Regions from separate parts of the Homo sapiens genome. Here regions 1, 3, 4, 5 and 6 are each linked to region 2. Evidence: promoter capture Hi-C in 16 types of primary human blood cells and fetal thymus (Javierre and others, 2016). All regions are on one chromosome and are shown on one strand. The core of a region is centred on a gene start or on the middle of the fragment in contact, and the rest is flanking DNA. Distances in the headings are between cores, read along the strand shown. Region 1 overlaps NFXL1 (nuclear transcription factor, X-box binding like 1). Region 2 holds the start of GUF1 (GTP binding elongation factor GUF1). Region 3 overlaps NFXL1 (nuclear transcription factor, X-box binding like 1). Region 4 overlaps NFXL1 (nuclear transcription factor, X-box binding like 1). Region 5 overlaps NIPAL1 (NIPA like domain containing 1). Region 6 overlaps NFXL1 (nuclear transcription factor, X-box binding like 1).

Region 1 (2,700 bases), core at 147-2,646, 3.2 Mb after region 2:
GGCAAAAGTATTGTAAAGAAAGAGACCAAAACCCCAAGGAAAAAAAAAATATGCAAAGGACGTCAACAGCCAATTCACTAAAATAAATTTTAAAATGGTCCTCATTAAAACAGAGAGCCTAGAAGCAATGAAACACAAGGAGCAAAAAGCACACCAAGTGGCTTTTAAATATCACTGCCCATTAAAAAGGCCCTTAGAGAAATGTCTAAGTCCTGGGCTAGGATATGTAAAGTACAAGATGAGCCTGGGCCATTTTTATTAGCCAGAAAAAAAAAGAAAATACTAAAACAAAGATGGAAACACATCAAAGGGACATGAGAACCAGTTTAAAGACACTCCCATGGGCCTTTGATGTTCAATAAATTAAACATCAAAATGATGGCGAAGGACCAAATAAAGAATCCACTGGTTCATGCCAGTATTAACATACGAGGTTGGGAGAGCTCTTACAGTAAAATGTCAATTAATAAATGTAGAAGATGGAGTTAGAAAATTCCCACTTGGCAAGTTTTTATTTGTTTTGTAAAATACACTTGGTTCTTTGGGAGGCCGAGGCGGGCAGATCACGAGGTCAGGAGATCAAGACCATCCTGGCTAACATGGTGAAACCCTGTCTCTACTAAAAAAAATACAAAAAATTAGCTGGGCGTGGTGGCAGGCGCCTGTAGTCCCAGCTACGCGGGAGGCTGAGGCAGGAGAATGGCGTGAACCTGGGAGGCGGAGCTTGCAGTGAGCAGATTATGCCACTGCACTCCAGCCTGGGTGACAGAGCGAGACTCCGTCTCAAAAAAAAAAAAAACAAAAACAAAACAAAAAAACACTTGGTTATTTCCATGGGTTTCTATGCTCTAGAATACTTTATGTAGTATCACTGGGATTAAATGGTCAAGGGTTTCATTAATGAAGCATCTGGGCACACATGCACGTGTGTTGTTCTTGAGAGCTTTTTCTATTTTCTCAAATGTTATCGTAGTAACAACTCATTTACAACAGAATCATCAATGGATGCTAAAATTCGTGGGTGAAAGTTTGATGAGGAACAAGCTATATAAATAAACAGAATGCAGGTGTGACACTGCCCAAGTTCATTACTATCCATTAATAATGTAAAATTGCCCTCTAAATTCCCCCTACAAAACTTCTAAGACTAAAAATTATAATACTTTATTTTTGAGATTTCAACAAAATAACTTTAATATAAGAAAAGAATAAAATTTGTCTTCTATAATTTAACAAAGCATGAGTCTAGAGTTTAGGGAACAAAAATGTTAGCTAATATGAACAGGAATTTTTCAAAATGTAATTATGCTAAAAAATATGAAATAAAGTAATATTCCCAAATGAAACTTGAGGAAAATATATTTACAAAAAGCTCACTTTACGGACTGGAGTGAAACAGCCAGGAGAGTTAAGTGGTAAATTATGTTATATCATTATTAAATAAAAGGGAAATTTTTTTCTTCTATCTAAATAATCCATAAGCAAAAACTGGCATTTTTTTAAATGAAGAAAACATACTGGTTTGGTCATATCCTAGTGTGATAGGTGCTATAACAGCAACGCTTGTAATAAAGGCCTACCTTTTAAATCTATAACTTAAAAATTATGCTTAAGTAGGCTGGGCATGGTGGCTCACCCCTGTAATCCCAACACTTTGGGAGGCCAAGGTGGGTGGATCACGAGGTCAGGAGTTTGAGACCAGCCTGACCAACATGGTGAAACCCCATCTCTACTAAAAATACAAAAATTAGATGGGTGTGGTGGCACGTGCCTGTAATCCCAGCTACTCAGGAGGCCAAGGCAGGAGAATTGCTTGAACCCAGGAGGCAGAGATTGCAGTGAGCCAAGATCGTGCCACTGCACTCCAGCCTGGGCAACAGAGCGAGACTCTGTCTCAAAAAAAAAAAAAAAAGAAAAAAAAAATTATGCCTAAGTCAACTACTGGCATAGCTCAGAGATATTGCAGGTTCAGTTCCAGACCACCTTAATATAGCGAATATCATACTAAAGCAAGTCACACACATTTTTTGGCTTCCCAGTGCATATAAAAGTTATGTTTACACAATACTGCAATATACTAAGTATGCAATAGCATTACATCATAAAAAACAATGTGTATACCTTAACAATACTTTATTACTAAAACCTGCTAACACTCATCTGAGCCTTCAGTCAGTCTTAATGTTTTCACAGATGGAGCATCTTGCCTAGATGTTTATGGCTGCTGACTGATCAGGGTGGTGGCTGCTGAAGATTGAGGTGGCTATGGCAATTAAAAAAAATAAGACAATAGAGTTTGCTGCATCAATTGACTCTTCCTTTCAGGAAGATTTCTCTGTAGCATGTGATGCTGTGTTTCATAGCATTTTACCCACAGTAGAACTTCTTTCAAAATTCCTATCAAACCTGCTGCTGCTTTATCAACTAAGTTTGGGTAATATTCTAAATCCTAATCCTTTGCTGTCATTTCAGCAATGTTCACAGTATCTTCACCAGGAATAGATTCCACTTTCTTTGTTCATCCATTAGAAGCAACTTCTCATCTGTTCAAGTTTTATCATGAGATTGCAACAATTCAGTCCCATCTATAGGCTCCACTTTTAATTATAGTCCTCTTGCTATTTCCACCACATCTGCAGTTACTTTCTGCACTGAAGTCTTGAACCCCTCAAAGTCATCTATTAGGGCTGGAATCAACTT
Region 2 (2,700 bases), core at 120-2,619:
TCACCACTTTAACTGGTGTCTGCCTTTATCTTTGACAGGATATGGTGAAAATTAATGAGGGTAATTGTGCAAATTATGGAAGTCTGGGCAACATTGAATATAAATTATTGTGTTTACTTCAAGATAGTTGTTAAATTCATTCTCTTACAAGTGTGACAGAATTAGTCGTCTATCAAGTACTGTTTTAATTCATAAAAGTTCCAAGAAAGGGCCAGGCGCGGTGGCTCACGCCTGTAATCGCAACACTTTGGGAGGCCGAGGTGGGCAGATCACGAGGTCAGGAGTTCGAGATCAGCGTGACCAACATGGTGAAACCCCGTCTCTACTAAAAATACAAAAATTAGCCATGATTGCTGGCGCGCGCCTGTAATCCCAGCTACTCAGGAGACTGAGGCAGGAGAATCGCTTGAGCCCAGGAGGCGGAGGTTGCAGTGAGCCGAGATAGCGCTACTGTACTCCAGCCTGGGCGACAGAGCGAGACACCATCTCAGGGGGGAAAAAAAAATCCAAGAAAGAACTGAGTCTGGTACAGAATTCTTGATCCTAAGAAATCCTCCAAATGAAGAAACTTTCAAAGGCTCTGGAAACAATACGAATGATTCTGTCTTCAGTCACAATGATGAACTGAACACAGCTGTCATCTCCCTCCTTCGCACCAAATTCTGGATATTCCAGAAAAGCGCAAGAGAAATAGTGGGAGACAAACACTGGATGCAATCCTCCTATCACCTGTTTTATCCCCCATTCTTACTTCGTCAGAGCTCATTCCATGAAGTGGTAACTTGATGACGATGGAAACATTGGGGGTCCAGCATGGAACTTTTTCCCACCTTTACTTCTTGCCAAAACCTTCCTGGATTCAGTATTGCAATCAATGTTATGGCCCGTTTCCTTTCAGATGCACTTCAAGATTAGCTCTGTCACTGACAACATGGGGAATACATTTCGACCTCCAGATTTTAAAAGTGCCATTATTATTTTGCCATTAGGTAGAAGGCTAAGTCTCAACGTTGTGCTAATAATAGCATCTTTAAGTCCCTGGACTAAGACCTCGGCTCCTGGTTCGGGAATCAGACTGCCTGGGCGGCACTCCAGGCTCCACAGCTCCCCACCTGTGAGCTCCTGGGCAAGTCACTCGGTCCGGATTTCCAGAGGTAGTTTGGGGGAACTGACAGTACACACACCACAGGGCAGTAGTAAGAAAGAGACAATGCAAAGGAATTGGCACAGCACTCAGCAGACAATATAAGCTAATATGTACTCTGTCTACACCCTGCGTTTTAGGGAGTCAATCGAAAGCCTCCACTCACGTGACCACTCCACTACCCGGCGCCAAGACGCGCTGATGTCACGACAGCGTGCGGCGTGCAGACGTCGGCAAGCTGCGCCGCCGCTTCGGGTTGCTTCCGGATCTGGTACTTGGGCAGAGCTCCCCGGGGTTCATTGTCTTCGCTTCACAGGATCTGTTTGAGTCCTGTCCACCGGATCCTACGGGGGGTACCTTCGAAAAAAAACGGGCTATGCTGCTGTTGCGTGTGGGTACCCTCTCCTGACGCCTCCGCCGCCCGGGTCATGTGGACCCTCGTGGGTCGGGGCTGGGGGTGCGCACGCGCTCTCGCGCCACGAGCCACTGGGGCCGCGCTTCTGGTGGCCCCGGGGCCCCGGTCCGCGCCGACCCTTGGGGCTGCTCCAGAGTCCTGGGCTACCGACAGGCTCTACAGCTCCGCAGAATTCAAGGTGACTGCCCCCTGGAATCTGATTTAGCCAAGTTTTCAAACGTTGGAGTGCCCCATGCGATCTTGGACATGTATAGGGCTTTCTGGGACTAGCTCTGAACCCTGCTTGCAACTTGGTACAGGGAGGCAGAGCGGAGAGTGTGAGCACTGCTCAGGTTCCCGACCCTCCACTCCTCACTAGTGTGACCTTGGGCAAGTCACTAACTTTGTAGGTTTTCTCATTTTCAATGTCAAATGTTGATTTGTTTACGCGAGCCACTGGTCGAAGTGCTTTGCGTTTATTCATCTATTTAATTCTAAAAAGCCTACTAAGCAAGTTGCTAGTAAATATTAATATAACGTCCATTTTCCTGCAAATTAAGTAGCTATGTGGCCTGGGCAAGTTACTACATTGTCACTCTCCTACTTCATTTGTTGAATGCAGAACTGATCAAACATCCAGTGGCTAATTTGTGAGATTTGTGTGATGTGAGAAGTGGACTTTTTTAGACTAATACCTAGAATGCAGGAAGTTCTCGGTCTGTCTTTGTAGTTTTATTTCATTCTACCTCAGCCAGAGCAAACCTGTGTAATTTTGACTCTGGTGGGAGAGGGTGGGAGGTTCAACAACTCTGATAATTGTGAATGGATACATTTTAGTCAGAAAAGTGAAGTGACTGAAGGCAAGCTATAAGTAGGCAGAAAGACAAAACCTTAAATTAATCAACTTTGGCCCTAATATGCCTGTGTTTTTAAAAATGGATTTATATTGCAATTCGAAGTATAAAGATGGTGCAATTCTCTATACCTTTTGAACTGAAGGGAAAGAAAATCTACAGGGCAAACATCAGAATTAGTTTTTTTTCGGCAGACTTTCAGCTATAATTGTGCTTTTATTATCTGTCTTTATGGGGCTATTAAAAAACAAAGCTCACGTGAATTTTATATTTCATTGTAATTTCATGGTTTTGCTGATTGTGAAATA
Region 3 (2,700 bases), core at 183-2,682, 3.2 Mb after region 2:
TATGCTATAGTGCATAGGTAATTAAGACAATAGTTAAAATATATATGTATTTAATAATATCCACCTAAAACTTTGTAAATGGTTATTTAATAGGAGGAAATGTAAACTTTAGTTCACATATCCATTACTGTGGTCATAAACCACACTTGAAAAAGATCTAATAATAAACTTAGTTTAATACAAAGTGGCATTCTTCAATGAGCCAAAATGTCAGACTACTCCCAAGTGGTTAGTTTCTGACATATAAAAAACGTCAAAATATCTTAAAAGCAGGCAAACTTGAGGACTACAGACACAGTAAAATAACTGACAGTTAAATGGTGACTCACAGTCACCAAGTATATATTATGTGCTGTATACAGTGATCCCTCAGTATCTGTAGGAAATTGGTTCTAGGATCCCCTTGGATATAAAAACCTGAGGATGATCAAGTCTCTACATAAATAGTGGAGGATTTGCAAATAACACACAAACATCTTCTTGTATACTTTAAATCACTCTAGATTTCCTATAACACCTAATAACAATGTAAATGCTATGTAAATAGGTGTTACACTGTATTTTAAAATGCGTATTATTTATTTTTTTTTTTTTTTACTTGTTTTGAAACAAATTTTCGATCTGTGGTTGGTTGAATTCACAGATGCAGAACCTACATATACTAAGGACTGATTATATTCTGTTTAAAGAGTCAGTAAACAGGGAATGTATCTAAGATTTTCATCCATGATGATTTATAAAAAGATAGCAAAGGGAATAAGGAGAAAACATACTAAACTATTCTTAATAACTTAATCTCCTAGGATTCCAGCCAACTTATGTTTTACTATTTAGCTCTGATAACTTATTTTGGGGATATCAGGCAAATCAACTTTACAGAACCATAAAATCTCAAAGGTCACCTTGGCCAACCATTATTTACTACATGAATTGTTTCTAATGTTCCTAATTGTTCTAATTGTTCCTACAACTCATCAAAGTTTGAATTTCCTTATTCATGCAAATCACGCAAGTTTCAATCTCATCATTCATAAAGGCAGTAGCTTAGCACACAATACAATCTGATAAGTATAAAGCATTTCAAGATACAAACTGACAAATAATAATAAAAAGTTATACATCACTATTAGAAAGTCAAGCCACTCTTTCAAGTGTATGATCAATAAAGTAAATACTTAAACAGGGAGTATCAGGAATGTACTTGTTCTCTAGGTAACAACAAAGAACAGGTTATAATCCCGCATTTAAAGATCTAATAGGGAAATATGGGAATATATTATTAAAACAAATGTACTGATTAGTAAACTGCACTTATTTGTTATAGGTGGTCTGCAACTCAGTAAAATAGAACTCAAATACTTTTAGTTAAGTAAAGTCATGGTCTCCAGAAGATGCCTTACAATGGTGATGATTCGCTCACTCTCACTCCCCAGCCAAAGGAGGAATTAAAATTCTTCTGGCTGAAGTATGGATGATATTGGCAAGAAAGTAAATTGGAAATACAAAAAAAAAATTTGGGAATATATGAGATCTCATACCTTTTCAGAGTTTCAGTATACTTAAAGTCAAGTTAGTAGATGGCTCATTTTTGTTTTACAAGAACTGTTATTTTCAGTTCACAATAGAGACTAGACCTTAGTTTGACCTTGGAATATACCCCGTGTTTGCACAAAATCTAGCAATGATGCTAAGAGACATAAATCTGGGTATTTTGTTTGGTTACCTGTTGTCTTCGTTTTTCTTCTTCAAGAGCAGCTTTGGCTTCTGCTTCTTTTATCTGTTTATACACATACAAAAGTCAATTTACAATTTAGTCATCACATTTTATATGGAATTTTAACATCTACCCATCCAGGTTCTATTAACCCATATCAACTTTTAGGAGCTTGAAATCATTTAAAGAAATGTAAATGCTATACTGAGACAAGGTTTTACCAAGGCACTATCTAATAAATTGAAGGTGGTCATGGATGGAGTGTTATACCTTATATGAGCATCTCAGCTTAACAAGTAAAATCGGTATTACATCGTAATTCAAAGAGTTAAAACACTGTAACAGCAAATTTTAAAACTGCCTTTTTTCCTCTTGAGTTGCTGTATTAAGAATCTAGAATTAATTATTAAATACTGCTGTTTCTCTAGAGTTAAATTTATCTTAAATGTGCTATCATGGAAGGGAATCCTTACTTTCAAACAAAATCAAGAGGTCACTGATTGGGTTGATGGAGGGGAAGAGTAACACTAGAGATAACCCAAGCAGCAAAGAATCTCAAAATCTTATAACGGGCATAGAAGATGAAAAGCCTTCATATACACTAGGCAATGAAAATCCCAATCTGCCATTCAAAATAAGCCTATAAAACTAGGCTTTTATTATAAAAGCAAAAAAATGAGATTTCAAGTTGTTTTTAATAAGTACATAAATGCACAAAATAAGAAGGGAAAGGCCACTAGTCTTTAAAATGATATTTAACGAGACATTACCTCAGATGCTTTCCGCTTCATTTCCTTGCACGTTGTGTCACATTCTATTGAAACCTGATTTTCACGTACTTTGTTGCACTGCAATTCCTACAAACAACCCGATTTTCAAATTTTAAATGATTTTTCCCTCAAAGACCTGTCTGCCATAAAAAAGCAAAGTTCATCTGATAGCTTAAGGTTATAAGTATTATTTGATGTCTTAATATTTAATGATGA
Region 4 (2,700 bases), core at 179-2,678, 3.2 Mb after region 2:
ATACACTTTTCACTAAAAGAAGTATTCAAGAATATCAACATTCTTCTGGTAAGTAAACATACTTCACTAAGAACTTATGATGACCTAATTTAACAAATCAAGCTAAATTTTCCTGACTTTCAGTTAATTATTCTATGATTCAAAACATTTCCATCAGATAATTTCATTCCTTTATCTATGCAGAGACTAACAACATTAACCAAAGGAATGTCAATTCAGGAAAACAATTAGTCTGGTTTTTAAAAAAAATTTAATTAAAATCAAATTCAACGTATAGATTCATTTGGCAGTTATTTATTTTCTTTTTCTTTTTTTCTTTTTTTTTTTTTTCTTGAGACAGAGTCTGGCTCTGTCTCAGGTTAGAGTGTAATGGCACAGTCTTGACTGACTGCAACCTCCACCTCCCAGGCTCAAGCCATCCTCACACCTCAGCCTTCTGAGTACCTAGTTCTACATGCTCTCCCCACCACACCTCAGTAGTTTGTGTATTTTTGGTAGAGATGGAGTTTTGCCATGTTGCCCAGGCTGCTCTCAAACTCCTGAGCTCAAGCGATCTGCCTGCCTTGGCCTCCCAAAGTACTTGGATTATAGACATAAGCCACTGCTCCTGGCTTCGTTTGGCAGTTATTTTCAAACCATAGATTAAGAGATTAAAGAAGAGAAGCAGAGATAGGCTACTTGCATCCAGCTTTCTTTGTCACTTCCCTGGTTTCACAGACACTTCCGTGTCTGTGAGAAATATAGCTATCTATGACCTGTCCTAATTTTTCAATCATGGACACCAGTCAACTACTTCAAGTCTATATTGCCATCTTAACTCTTTCCTTAACTTCTTACTTACCTAACTTTGGAAAGGAAATACAGACTACAATTGTCTTAAAGAAACTTAGGGTTGTATATAAGAGTAAGTTTCATTATATAAAAATAGCTAAAAACAAAATGTACATTATTAAAAAGCAATTAAGTCAATACAGTTTATTCTCAAAAATTAGCCAGGCATGGTAGTGCGTGCCTGTAGTCCCAGCTACTTGCGGAGGCTGAGGCAGGAGAATTGCTTGAACATGGGAGGCAGAGGTTGCAGTGAGCCGAGATCACACCACTGCACTCCAGCCTGGACGATAGAGTAAGACTCCGTCTCAAAAAAAAAAAAAGAGGCAATATAGTTTATTCAATTAGACAAGTGTTTATTGAGTAATACTATGTGCCTATCCTATCACTTTGCCAGTGGGGGAAAAGATTATGTGGTCCATGACTTGAATAAGCCAATAGACACTTCTGTTTTGAGTTATGATGGAGTAACAACAACCAGATTTACACTCCTGTCTCAAACCACTAGAAAACCACATAAAAGATATGAAGCTACAGTTTTCAGGTATTAGATAATGAGGCAGCACAGATGGCAGTCCCTAACAGAAGGGAAACAAACTAGGTAAGTCTTGCAATGCTATCAGCTTACACATGAAGACTTCTGGCTATAGCACAAGGAGGAAGATCATAAGCAGAATCTGGCTGTCTCATAAAGTTGAGTAGGCAAAATTCGTAGTTCAGAGAGGCCAGTGTGGCTAGAATTTGTGCAGAGAAGGCAGCAGTACAGAAAAAGCTCTGAAGAACTCCAGAAAGAACTTCTTGGGTCTTTGGCTGAGTACTGGTCTGTATGTGTGTGAGAGGAAACAATCCAAAAGCTGAGAAAGAACCACTGGAAGGAGAAGGCAGAATAATTTCAAGAGATCACACAAGGCTGGGAAAAAGTCTGTGTTCCTTACAGCCAGAATAGAAGGACCTTCTAATACCTGGGCATCAAGTAGAGTACTTAGAAGACTTACTGCCTCAGTAATGGGGCCAAATTAGCCCTAAACAAAAGAGTGTTCCGGTCACACTTAAAAATATCAAGCCTCTGAAAGAACAAACAGTTTTTGAGTAACTTAACTTTGCCCCAGAATAAGGCTTAAAAATATTTAAAGAAATACAAATAAACAAACAAAAAGAACCAGCACCCAAAAATGTAAAGTTCATGTCTAGTAACAATCAAAAATCATCTAGCAGACAAAGAAGCAGGAAAACATAACCCCAAAAAAGCAGAAAAGTCAATAAACAGAAACAGACTCAGAAATGAGAGATGACAGAATTAGTACACAGGGATATTAAAACAGACATTACAAATATAGCCTATCTCACATTCAAGTAGATAGAGGAAGCATGAACATGCTAAGGAGAAACACGGAAGATATAAAAAAGACCCAAATCCAACTTCTAGAGATGAAAATACACAACTTCTCAGATGAAAAACACAGGATGGGATAAAAAGCAGATTAGACAATGCAGAAGAAAATTAGCAATGTTGAAGACAAAACTATATAAACTAAAACAGAAACAGACTGAAAAATAAATAGTATCAGTGAACTTGGAAATTCAAGCAGCATATAACATACATGTCCTTAAAGTCTCAGAAGGTGACGGGTAGGGGAAAACAGAAAAAAAAATCTGAAGAAATAAAAAACAAAAATTTCACAAATATAATAAAAACTATAAACCTACAGATCTAAGCAGCTCGATGAAAACTAGGTTAAGAAACATAAAGAACACCATACCAAGGAACACCAGAAACAAACTGCTGTAAACTGGTGATAAAGAGAAAGATCTTAATAACCAGACAGAAAAAAAGAGAAACAATCAGTACAGAGGAACAGATACAACAATCAC
Region 5 (2,700 bases), core at 150-2,649, 3.3 Mb after region 2:
GCTTCCTTGAGCATTTTCCTGTCTATAAATTGGGGGTCATCCCTCCAGTTTACAGTTCTGAAGAGTAGGTGCAGGTGGGATTACATATGAACTACACCACTCAGAGCTTGACATGGAGTAAACAAAGACTCAATTTTTCACTTGTTCATTCAAATAACAAGAGTCCCATGTGCCAAGCACTGGCATAGGTGCTGGGATAGAGGGATCTGCAAGACAGTCTGGTCCCAGACTCTAGGACTAGGTTCCTGCTCTCAGGCACCTTACTGTTCAGATGGCAGCTACTATGCAAGAAACAAAGTAATTTAAAAGATCATTATAATAGCAGTAATGTATCAAGAGTGTTGGGATGTTTAGATTGGGTATTCAATGAAAGCCCCTTACGAAAGTGATATTCAAGCTGAGACCCAAATGACAAGGGGTCAGTCATGAGATCTGAAGATAGAACATTCCAGTTGAACTTCCATGAAGAAAAAGTTAATTTCATACTTTGGTTTTGACTTTTTTTTGTTTTTTTGAGGCGGAGTGCCACTCCGTCACCCAGGATGGCATGCAGTGGTGCAATTTCAGCTCACTGCAACTTCCACCTGGGTTCAAGCAATTCTCCTGCCTCAGCCTCTCAAGTAGCTGGGAATACAGGCACATGCCACCATGCCCAGCTAATTTTTGTATTTTTAATACGGGTTTCACTGTGTTGACCAGGCTGGTCTTGAACTCCTGACTTCAAGTGATACTCCTACCTTGGCATCCCAAAGTGCTGGGTTTACAGGCATGAGCCATCCCCCACCCCACATTGGTTTTGACTTTTAAAGCTATAGATGCTTCAAAAGAGTCTCTAATCCAAAATTATCTTTAAAAGAAACAAATGCAAATATGTATGAAGGTTGTTATAAAGCTGTAATTAAGCCATATGAGGAAGTCTATTTGATTGGGAACATATGATGGAAAGTGACTGAGAGGTTCCTTTAGATTGGGAAGGCAGGAAAGGCCTCTCTGAGTTGCTTAGTCCTCTCACTCAGAAGAAGCTAGCTATGCCAGCCAGCACTCTGTAACAGGCTCAGGAACAGCTGCTTTTTAAAAAGCTTAAGGTGAGAAGGAACTTATTCTATGAAAGGAACAGAAGAAAAGGCAATAGTAGGGAATGAGGTTAGGCAGCTGGAGACAGGATTCCACAGGGCCTTATAGGCTATAGTGGGAATTTTGGATTTTTTTCGGAATGAGAAGGGAAGCCCTTGTGGAGTTTTGGAAGGAGGAATGACAAGATCAGACCTACTTGTCTAAAGGTTCATTTCACCTGATCCTTCTCCCACCTACTCTTTAGCCACATCTCATACCATCTCCCTTTCTGTCACCCCAGGCAACCTGGCTGACTGCAGTTTCTTCAACCCCTCAGGGTTTCTGCTTTTAGACTTAGCAGAGAGGCTCTTTTGTTTAATCCTGTTTTAAAAAATATATTCCTTGATGCTGCTTTTACTACTTGCTATGGCACTCTTAACATACGTATAGTTATTTGTTTGTTAATCCTATCTGCCCCCACTGGAATATAAGAGAGCGGGACCATTGTTGTATTCATTTTTCTATCTCCAGATTCTAGAAAATGCCCAACAGGTAGTACACCATACATATTTGTTGAATGAAGGAAAAGAAGATTAGTGTTTCAGAGAGGGGTGAGAGGGAGAGTAATGCAATATGATGTCAGAGACGAGCCAGTTTCAGAGCATGAGAAGCTTTAAAGTTCAAAGTTAGTGAGGAGTTGAGATTTTGTTGTAAGTTGAGATGAAAAACCATGACAGGGGACAGGGAGTATTAAGCCAGGGAGTGATATAACCTACTTCCCACTGGTTAGCGTTTGGAGAATAAATTGTAACAGATATAAAGAGATTTCATTCAGTCATTCCCATGCTAATATGAATAGGCAGGTATATCACATATTCTTGCTTAGGTTTCTAGGTCAGCTGAAGGTTGACTGATCTAGATGGGGCTCACCTATATGTCTCTGCTTCAGGCTAATGTCCACCTGGGTTTGGCTCCTTCATGTGGGATGAGCTCAGATCTGCTCCATGTGTCTTCATTTGGGTGCAGAGGCTGAAGGGACAGCAGCTCCTCAGGGAATTACAGAGATGCAAATGAGTAAACCCAACCACATAAGCATCTTTGAAATCTAGCTTCATATCACTTCTGCTGACTTCCCATTGGCCACCAACTTACTTCCAGCCCAACATCAGGTGAAGCACCTTTGCCCACATTGGGAAAGGTAAGGGGCTGAATACTGAATGAATAATAATCCAAACTATCACAGTAGAATAGATGGTGAGACCCCCAACTGGAAATATCTTGCGGTGATTAAAAAGGTAGTTTTATACAATTATTGACTTTCTTAAAACCAGATTTCTATTCCATGTAATAAACTGGATAATTTAAATTATTATTTAAATTTATATTATTATTCTCTATAGGCAAATATTTGACAAATTATTTAAAGCATTTCATCCTTATATAAACATGAATAATAAATTTCAACTGGCTTTTTCTTGTACTTTATGTTTTTATTTTTCTGAAATAGAATGCTGGCTGGGAATTGGGTTACTTGGCCCTGGTTTTAGCAGTTACATAACTTTGGCCAGTGTCACTTAATATATTGGCATCAGTTTCTTTAAAATATCTCTCCTCTATCAGTGCCTATGAGTTTAGAACTGGTCCATC
Region 6 (2,700 bases), core at 150-2,649, 3.2 Mb after region 2:
TAGAGTTACTTTTTATCAATTCTTACCTTGCCAACCTAGACTTCTCAGCCAAACTTCCTAATCTTAATTCCTTAGCAGATATGGTAAATTCCTTAGAAACCTACTTGATGATGTACAACTATCTTCATGATCCTATCAATATACTCAGGCAACTATCTAATCACCAAGGTTATGTGTTGGGAAGGGAAAGGTGAAATACATCGATCCTTCTGTCTGAAGACTTGATTAACTCTCAGCCAGGCACAGTGGCTCACGCCTGCCACTTTGGGAAGCTGAGGTGGGAGAATTCTCTGTAGCCAGGAATTCAAGACCAGCCTTGACAACACAGGAAAACACTGTCTCTACAAAAAAATTCTAAAAAAATTAACCAGGCATGGTGGTGTGTGCTTGCAGTACCAGCTACTTGGGAGGCTAAAGCAGGAGGGTCACTTGAGCTCAGTAGTTCAAGATTGTAGGGAGCTATGATCACATCACTGCACTCCAGCCTGGGCAATAGAAGAAGACTGTCTCCAAAAAAAAAAAAAGACTAACTCTCATGCTCTTTATTTGCGTTTATGCTAACTAATGCTCAAACTCTGCTATGCTTCTGATTCTGTCATACTAACTAACAGGCCTGAATCCTGGCATCACTGGCCTTATACTTCTCATGAAAGCACAAGATAATAACTAAGGAACACATTAGTATAGTGTAGATGGAGAGAGCTTAGGATGTGGGGCCTTATGATCAAGGGAAGACATGACTGAAAAAAGAAACAAATTTTTGGCCTGGCGCAATGGCTCACGCCTGTAATCCCAGCACTTTGGGAGGCCGAGGCGGGCGGATCACGAGGTCAGGAGATCAAGACCATCCTGGCTAACACAGTAAAACCCCGTCTCTACTAAAAACACAAAAAATTACCCGGGCATGGTGGCGGGCACCTGTAGTCCCAGCTACTCGGGAGGCTGAGGCAGGAGATTGGCATGAACCCGGGTGGTGGAGCTTGCAGTGAGCTGAGATTGCGCCACTGCACTCCAGCCTGGGCGACAGAGTGAGACTCCGTCGCAAAAAAAAAAAAAAAAAAGAAACAAATTTTTTAAAAGAAAGCAGCAGTTACGATAGAAAATCTCTAATAATCAAGCCACAAAATACATTAAACATTCCAGCAAACAGATATACAGCACAGACTACACAACAGGCACTACTGTAAGCACTACAGTACTTACACATACTGATTCATTTCATCCTAACAACTCTACAGTATTTAGTATCATTATACCCATTTTACAAAAGAAACTAAGCCCCTAAGATGCTAAGCAATATGTCAAACATCCTACAGCCAAGTAACAAAGCCAAGAATCAAACCGTAGCAATCTGATTCAAGTGTCAATGTTCTTAACTGCTGTACAATGCTGCTTTTTCCCCATAAACAGGTACAAAAGTAACCGTCTAGTCTCCTCAGAATTTTCCTGCTTTTACAGAGAAAATGAAATCAGCCCAGTAATGGCTCTAAAGCTAAGTCAACTAGGTTTAAACCCAGCTCTGCCAATTACTAATTGTCTAACTCTAGGAAAGTCACCTCTCCTCTGTAGAATTGTTTCCCAAAATATTTGTAAGGTTTTTCCTGGTTTTAACAGTATACTAAAGTAAGAAAAAGAACCAAGCAAGGGCATAAATATATATTACTAATAAAAGGTATATAAACAATATGACATATCTACAAATATATTAATAAATGTTGACATTACATGCAAAAATATTTCTTTCTTTCTTTTTTTTTTTTTAATTGAGACGGAGTCTTGCTCTGTCTCCCAGGCTGGAGTGCAGTGGCGCAATCTCAGCTCACGGCAACCTTCACCTCCCAAGTTCAAGCAATTCTCCTGCCTCAGCCTCCTGAGTAGCTGGGATTACAGGTGTGTGCCACCATGCCCAGCTAATTTTTTTGTATTTTTAGTAGAGACGGGGTTTCACCATGTTGGCCAGGCTGGTCTCAAACTCCTGACCTCAAGTGATCCCCCGGCCTCGGCCTCCCAAAGTGCTGGGGTTATAGGCGTGAGCCACTATGCCTGGCCTACATACAAGAATATTTCTAATAATAATTTTAAAGTATAAAAGGCAGAAAGTTTAATAATATTTACATTTAAAATAATCTATTTTTACACTTAATACTAAAGTGGTACACAGCAACATCACTTTGGCCCTCTCTCACATAAACAAACGTGGCTTTAAGAGCAATCAGATATAAACCACAGATAACACGAATGTACATGTCAAACCTGAGGAAATTTAGGTTTTTTAAAAAAAGTACGGCTAGGTGCAGTGCACATGCCTGTAGTCTCAGCTACTCAGGAAGCTGAGGCAGGAGGATCACTTAAGCCCAGGAGTTGAAGACTGCAGTGAACTACGCACCACTACGTACCACTGCGCTCCAGCCTGGGCAACAGAACAAGACCCCAACTCTAAAAATAAATACATGAAAATCAGATGTTGTAAATAAGATATAAAATAAGGAAATAAAGAATTAAAAAGACTTCAAGACGCATTTAACATGATGAAAAAAAATGAATAGATTGAAAGGAGTACACAAAGTACTCTAGTTCAATCAAATCATCACAACCAGAAAAAACTTGCCCCAGTCCACCGCTCAGGAGCTTTAGCAGCCCCATCCAAGCATTCTACTGAAATGCCAATTAAATACACACAAAGGCCTCCTAAGGCTATAA

What was found. Contacts are between HindIII fragments. The CHiCAGO score rates a contact against its expected background, and 5 or more counts as called.
Region 1: a contact is called between a fragment that was not itself captured here and the fragment with the promoter of GUF1 in region 2, in 1 of 17 cell types (naive CD8 T cells). The highest score is 7.7, in naive CD8 T cells.
Region 3: a contact is called between a fragment that was not itself captured here and the fragment with the promoter of GUF1 in region 2, in 1 of 17 cell types (activated CD4 T cells). The highest score is 5.4, in activated CD4 T cells.
Region 4: a contact is called between a fragment that was not itself captured here and the fragment with the promoter of GUF1 in region 2, in 3 of 17 cell types (naive CD8 T cells, total CD4 T cells and naive CD4 T cells). The highest score is 7.8, in naive CD8 T cells.
Region 5: a contact is called between a fragment that was not itself captured here and the fragment with the promoter of GUF1 in region 2, in 3 of 17 cell types (total CD4 T cells, total B cells and activated CD4 T cells). The highest score is 6.8, in total CD4 T cells.
Region 6: a contact is called between a fragment that was not itself captured here and the fragment with the promoter of GUF1 in region 2, in 8 of 17 cell types (total CD4 T cells, total B cells, non-activated CD4 T cells and 5 more). The highest score is 13.2, in total CD4 T cells.

Annotation. Positions count from the first base shown.
Region 1 is chr4:47,870,566-47,873,265 of GRCh38, forward strand. All of the region lies in intron 18 of NFXL1 (nuclear transcription factor, X-box binding like 1), which reads right to left. The region is part of intron 1 of LOC101927179 (a long non-coding RNA gene); the gene reads left to right. Among named protein-coding and RNA genes, the nearest start is that of CORIN, 34 kb to the left of the region's middle. The HindIII fragment of the contact is 4,683 bases long and covers 1-2,700 here.
Region 2 is chr4:44,677,051-44,679,750 of GRCh38, forward strand. It overlaps GUF1 (GTP binding elongation factor GUF1), which reads left to right and starts at 1,370. Exons shown (of 17, transcript NM_021927.3): 1 at 1,370-1,737. The coding sequence starts at 1,573. RefSeq lists an enhancer at 589-1,477 and a silencer at 1,549-1,708. The HindIII fragment of the contact is 9,672 bases long and covers 1-2,700 here.
Region 3 is chr4:47,849,372-47,852,071 of GRCh38, forward strand. NFXL1 (nuclear transcription factor, X-box binding like 1) reads right to left here. Exons shown (of 23, transcript NM_001278624.2): 21 at 2,485-2,571; 22 at 1,724-1,777. All of the region lies in intron 1 of LOC101927179 (a long non-coding RNA gene), which reads left to right. Among named protein-coding and RNA genes, the nearest start is that of CORIN, 13 kb to the left of the region's middle. The HindIII fragment of the contact is 3,566 bases long and covers 1-2,700 here.
Region 4 is chr4:47,890,799-47,893,498 of GRCh38, forward strand. The region is part of intron 11 of NFXL1 (nuclear transcription factor, X-box binding like 1); the gene reads right to left. All of the region lies in intron 2 of LOC101927179 (a long non-coding RNA gene), which reads left to right. Among named protein-coding and RNA genes, the nearest start is that of NFXL1, 22 kb to the right of the region's middle. The HindIII fragment of the contact is 3,608 bases long and covers 1-2,700 here.
Region 5 is chr4:48,018,525-48,021,224 of GRCh38, forward strand. All of the region lies in intron 1 of NIPAL1 (NIPA like domain containing 1), which reads left to right. Among named protein-coding and RNA genes, the nearest start is that of NIPAL1, 3.1 kb to the left of the region's middle. The HindIII fragment of the contact is 645 bases long and covers 1,078-1,722 here.
Region 6 is chr4:47,907,912-47,910,611 of GRCh38, forward strand. All of the region lies in intron 3 of NFXL1 (nuclear transcription factor, X-box binding like 1), which reads right to left. Among named protein-coding and RNA genes, the nearest start is that of NFXL1, 5.3 kb to the right of the region's middle. The HindIII fragment of the contact is 5,714 bases long and covers 1-2,700 here.